Linked DNA regions of Homo sapiens: region 1 is linked to region 2. The links are contacts of gene promoters, found by promoter capture Hi-C in human tissues and cell types (Jung and others, 2019). All regions are on one chromosome and are shown on one strand. The core of a region is centred on a gene start or on the middle of the fragment in contact, and the rest is flanking DNA. Distances in the headings are between cores, read along the strand shown.

Region 1 (2,700 bases), core at 49-2,548, 400 kb before region 2:
CATAATTGTTTATGTAGAAAATCTAAAGGAATCTATACAACAATGACTAGAACTAATGAGGAAATTTAGCAAGATTGCAGGATACCAGATTAATATAAAAGTTCATTTACCTTTATATATAATCAGCAAATTGTTGGAAATTTAAACATAAAAATATCAATTTTAGTAGCTTCTAAAACTAAGGTATTTAGGAATAAATTTAACATGAGGCATATAATACCTACACGGTGAAAAATGTGAAAATGTTATGAAAGAAATATCTATATAATTGGAGAGATATACTATGTTCATGGATTAAAAGCTTAATAGTGATTCAATATCAGTTCTCTCCAAATTGATATATGGAGTAAAAAAAATACCAGTAAGAATTCCACCAGGTTGTTTGGAGAATATGAGAGCTAATTGTGATATTTCTCTAGAAAGTCAAAGTAACTAAAATATTCAAACCACTCTTGAAAAAGAAGAACGTACTTGGACACTTTTTACTGCCTGACTTCAAACACATTGGGTCTTGATATGCAATGGAAGCAAGTGAGTGGAAGAAGCTAGCACCACCTAAAATCTCTTCTGGTGAGAGTGGCAGCATTCTTGAGGAGTGGGGATGATGTTCTAATTACAGTGTCTCATACCTGGCTCCAGTGGTATTGGCAGCATGTGCTGGAGATGTACGTCCAGCAGGGTTGCAGTGCCATGCATACTGGACCGCTTAGGTGGTGTGACTTTAGGCACTTAGCCTCTAAGTGGTATGCATGATCCTCCTGATGATACTATGTGTTACCTAATAATCAATGATGAATTCATTTTCTGCTTAAATTAGCCAACGTTGCTTTGTTTTTTATTAGCAACAGGGAACTCTGACTGATAGAAATGCCAGGAAGAAAAATAGAAAGGTGAAAGGACAAAGGAGGACTAGGGCTGTATTTGGATAAGGGCATAAGAATGAACTTCTTAGCCGGGCGCGGTGGATCACGCCTGTAATCCCAGCACTTTGGGAGGCCGAGGCGGGAGGATCACCTGAGGTTGAGAGTTTGAGACCAGGCTGACCAACATGGAGAAACCCTGTCTCTACTAAAAATACAAAATTAACTGGGCATGGTGGCGCATGCCTGTAGTCCCAGCTACTCAGGAAGCTGAGGCAAGAGAATCGCTTGAACCTAGGAGGTGGAGGTTGTGGTGAGCCAAGATAGCACTATTGTGCTCCAGCCTGGGCAACAAGAGTGAAACTCCATCTCAAAAAAAAAAAAAAAAAAAAAAATGAATGAATTTCTTGGCCAGGTATGGTGGCTTACGGCAGTAATCCCAGCACTTTGGGGAACCAGGGCAGATGGATTGCTTGAGTCCAGGAGATTGACACCAGCCTGGGCAACATGGTGAAACCTCATCTCTATTATTAAATAAATAAATAATAAAAAAGAATGAATTTCTCTGAGGAGGTGGCATTTAAACAAAGACCATATTACTCCATTTTAGTTTGTAAAGAAACAAATATTCCATATGTGTATGAATGTCTAAATGAGCATATCAAACTATGAATAGATAATTGTGGTAGGCTGATAATGGATTCCAAAGATACGTCCACATCCTAATCCCTGGAACCTGTAAATGTTACCTTATATGAAAAAAAGGGTCTGTGCAGATGTGACTAAATTGGAGAACTTGAGATGAAGAGGTCATCCTGGATTATCCAGGTGGGCCCTAAATTCATTCAAAATATCCTTACAAGAGACTGGCAAACGAAGATTACACACAGAAAAGAAGAGGCACAGTGATCACAGAAACAGAGACTACAGTGATGTGGCACAAAATGCCAATAGTCACTAGAAGCTTCAAGGGGCAAGAAACAGACTCTTCCCTAGAGCTTCTAGAGGGAACATGATCCTGCTGACACCTTGATTTTGGCTCAGTGAAACTGATGTTGAACTTCTGGCTTTGAGGACCTTGTTTTAAGCTATCAAATTTGTGTTGATTTGTACAGCAGCCCCAGAAAACTAACACAATAATATATTTGATTATAAAACTGATTATCTGAAGGGAGAATGAGAGGTAGAGATTACAAGAGGAGCGGAGGATAGGGATATGAATAGACTTTATGTAAATTAAAAGTAGATGGACACATAAGAACATAGATTTTTTTGAGAACATAAAGAACAAGATTTGCATTAAACATGCAAGAATTATTGCAAATGGGGAGAGGAATGAGAATGGAGATACAAGGAAATAGATGGCAACAGAAATGAAACATTCAATTGGCAAGATACAGTTGGCAAGATTCAGTTGGCAAAAATTCAGATGGCAAGATACAGTTAGGGATACTTCCTATAACATGGAGGAAAAAAAAAGAAAAAATAATAACTAGCCAGGTGTGGTGGCACAGGCCTATAGTCCCACCTACTCGGGAGGCTGAGGTGGGAGGATCAGTTGAGCTCAGGAATTTGAGGTTGCAGTGAGCCATTATATGTCATGGTAGCTTGGGAAACAGAGTGAGACCCTGTCTAAAAAAAATAAAATAAAATAAAAGAGAGAAGAAAAAGAGAAATAAGTAAAAGGACCAGTTTGGGTGACCCAACATTCACATAAAGTGCAGTCCAGAAAGAAAATAAAAGAGGAAATGTAATCATCAAAGAAATCATTCAAGAAAATTTCCCTCTACAGATTGATGTTAGATTGAAGAGAAAGCATAGAGTTAAATGAGATTGGAGA
Region 2 (2,704 bases), core at 32-2,531:
ATCAAATATTCCCGTATCCTTAGAAGAATATAAATTAGATGCATGACGGTAACTTTGGAAAAGTTATGGGAAAAGATAGGCAGGGGGAAAAACAGGCTGAAATACGAGGTGAGGAGAGAGAATGAGGAGTGTAGGGTGGCTAGTGTGGAGCTTGCTCTTCTTACCCATATTTCTCATCTGATATTCTCTCTTATTTGTTTTTCTATTTTGCATTGTTTGTATTTTTATAAAGACAAAATTTCGAACTTTTTTGGAAACTTGGCAGATCATAAATAAAGGAATAAATAAGCAAGGTAAATTTTAGTGGCCATATTTGTATTTAGCATTCTAAAGACAGGAGTGGTCAAAGGTAGAGGCAAAACCAAAACAAAACAAACTTTTGACAAACATGGTTATGGCCAGAACTTGGAATAGCAAGAAAAGAGAATGTTAAATTAAAATATAACTCTCAAATGACAATTCACCCCTTACCTTCTCTGCTGATGGCAAAGTAGTTTGGCTGACTTTGTCCCATCAACGCCAAACCAAACCAAACAAAAACTAGGTGAAGGCAAGCGTCAGGGCTCCAACTCCTGCCGTGAGGAGCAAGCTCTGCGGCCCCGCAGGGTGGGAGGGTGAGAGAAATTCTCGAGGTGGGGGGCTGGGGAAAGTGAAGTGTGTCCCTCCATTGCAATAGGGACGTCACTGGGAACAAAGGCTCTGGAAAGTCGACAGCAACGGATACGGAGACGTGAAGGTTACCCTGGACGGGCCTTTCTGTGCATCGCACCCCAGACTACCCCCTTTGCTCACTCAATTCCTCCTCTCCAGGCTAAACTTGCTCTCTGCCGTCAATGTCCATTCTTTCCCTGGTAACCTCTCGCCCACGTCCCGCAGAGCCCACGCTCTTCCCGCTCTAGGATTCTCTTGCCCTCCTCCTTTTCCCTCTGCCTCTGGCCTCCTTTTCTCCTCTCTCGGCGTCTGCCTCCTCCTGCCTCCTCCTCCCTTTCTTTCCGGGAAGCCCCTCGCTTTCCTTCCCACCGAGCCCCGACCTCGGGGACCAAGTCAGGGGTCGGGGGCTGCAAGTGGATCCGCTGGAAGGGCCGGGCAGGGTGAGAGTTGGCGGGGCTGGGACCCGACGGGACGGAACGGGACGGGACCGGACGGGACGCGGCGCGCCCTGCAGGCGGCCCGGGGCGGGGAGAGCGGGTCCTGCCCCTCCCGGGCGGGCGCGCGGCCGGCCCGAGGGGCGGTCCCTGGGCTCCCGCTCGCCGCCGCTGCCGCTCCTCGTTCTGCTCCTCACTCCCCAGCGGCTGGAGGCCGGTACCGGCGGGCAGGAGGCGCCCGAGGATGTGCTGCTGGCCGCTGCTCCTGCTGTGGGGGCTGCTCCCCGGGACGGCGGCGGGGGGCTCGGGCCGAACCTATCCGCACCGGACCCTCCTGGACTCGGAGGGCAAGTACTGGCTGGGCTGGAGCCAGCGGGGCAGCCAGATCGCCTTCCGCCTCCAGGTGCGCACTGCAGGCTACGTGGGCTTCGGCTTCTCGCCCACCGGGGCCATGGCGTCCGCCGACATCGTCGTGGGCGGGGTGGCCCACGGGCGGCCCTACCTCCAGGTAAGCGCGTCTCCTCCCGGAGCCCGCCCGGCCGAGCCCGGTCCCGTCCGGACCCCAGAGAGGGCGCAGGTGCGGGTCGTCCCCGGGGCCCGCAGCTCTCTCTCACCTGGCGCAGCCCCGCGCCCCCGGCCACGCTCACTCTCGCCTCCGCGGGCAGCGCCTGCTCTCCCGGAGCCCCAGAAGGCGCGCGGTAGGGAAGCCGAGCACGGATGACCCCAGGCAGGTTTCCTTCTTTGAACACTTTCCTGTCCCCAGCGCCCCACTTAATAGACGCCCCCCCGCCTACACACCTGCAATACACCCCGCTTCATCCCTGATGGGAAGGGAGAAGGACCTAGGCTTTGGCTTTGGGGACCTAATGGGACAGCTCTCAGAGGAGGGAAGGGACAGAGCGCTTTAGTACGTCGCGGACTTGCTGTCTAGGAGTGGAAATCTCAGAACTTCCCAAATCGTGGCTATTTGGGAGCCTCCAGGCGCGGGGCTGATGTCAGCTACACCATTCTCCAGAAGAATGAAGGGCCCCTAAGAATCGCTTAGGGACTTTCCTATTCCGAGAGCTGTTCAGGAAGCCACATTTAGAGACCAAAATCGAAGGTCCCCAGGCAAAATATCCTATGAAGTGACAAAACTTTGGCTTACTTTAATAACCAATAAAGTTAATTTGACCGCTGCTGATTTACTTTGAAGGAGCCTAAGTAACCACCTTGCCTGTTCATGGGTGCTTTACTAAATAGAAAGAAAAAAAAAAAGGAAGAAGAAGATTGTGAGATGACCAGAATGATTAGGTGGCTAGGTTTCCTGGACATCCTTGCTTGATCGTGACCAACGTTTGGATGGCGGTGAACGTACACGCTTTGTTATTATAAAAATTCATCCGAACATACTGCCCTTTGCTAAAAGTCTTGATCCAGATGAAAACTCCGAATTGTTCTGGCATTGCATTAAGGCTTTGATAGTATTTAAATCAGTGTTCTCCGTGGATTTAGAGTGCGCTTCTTAGTAATTTTATCCCCAGGTTCTTTTCGACTGAAATATGCCATCAAACTTGAACGCTGATTCTGGCACTGAGCTGTTAACTCTGGAAGGAAATAAAGTGACAACAATAAAAAGT

What was found. The method cuts DNA at HindIII sites, captures the fragments that hold promoters and counts their contacts. A contact is called where the count stands out against the background at its distance.
Region 1: a contact is called between a fragment that was not itself captured here and the fragment with the promoter of MOXD1 in region 2, in 1 of the 25 tissues and cell types used here (H1 embryonic stem cells).

The regions. Positions count from the first base shown.
Region 1 is chr6:132,800,852-132,803,551 of GRCh38, reverse strand. No RefSeq gene overlaps it. Among named protein-coding and RNA genes, the nearest start is that of SLC18B1, 3.6 kb to the right of the region's middle. The HindIII fragment of the contact is 3,907 bases long and covers 1-2,700 here.
Region 2 is chr6:132,400,052-132,402,755 of GRCh38, reverse strand. It overlaps MOXD1 (monooxygenase DBH like 1), which reads left to right and starts at 1,281. Exons shown (of 12, transcript NM_015529.4): 1 at 1,281-1,593. The coding sequence starts at 1,330. RefSeq lists silencers at 1,068-1,207, 1,228-1,397, 1,528-1,577. The HindIII fragment of the contact is 14,314 bases long and covers 1-2,704 here.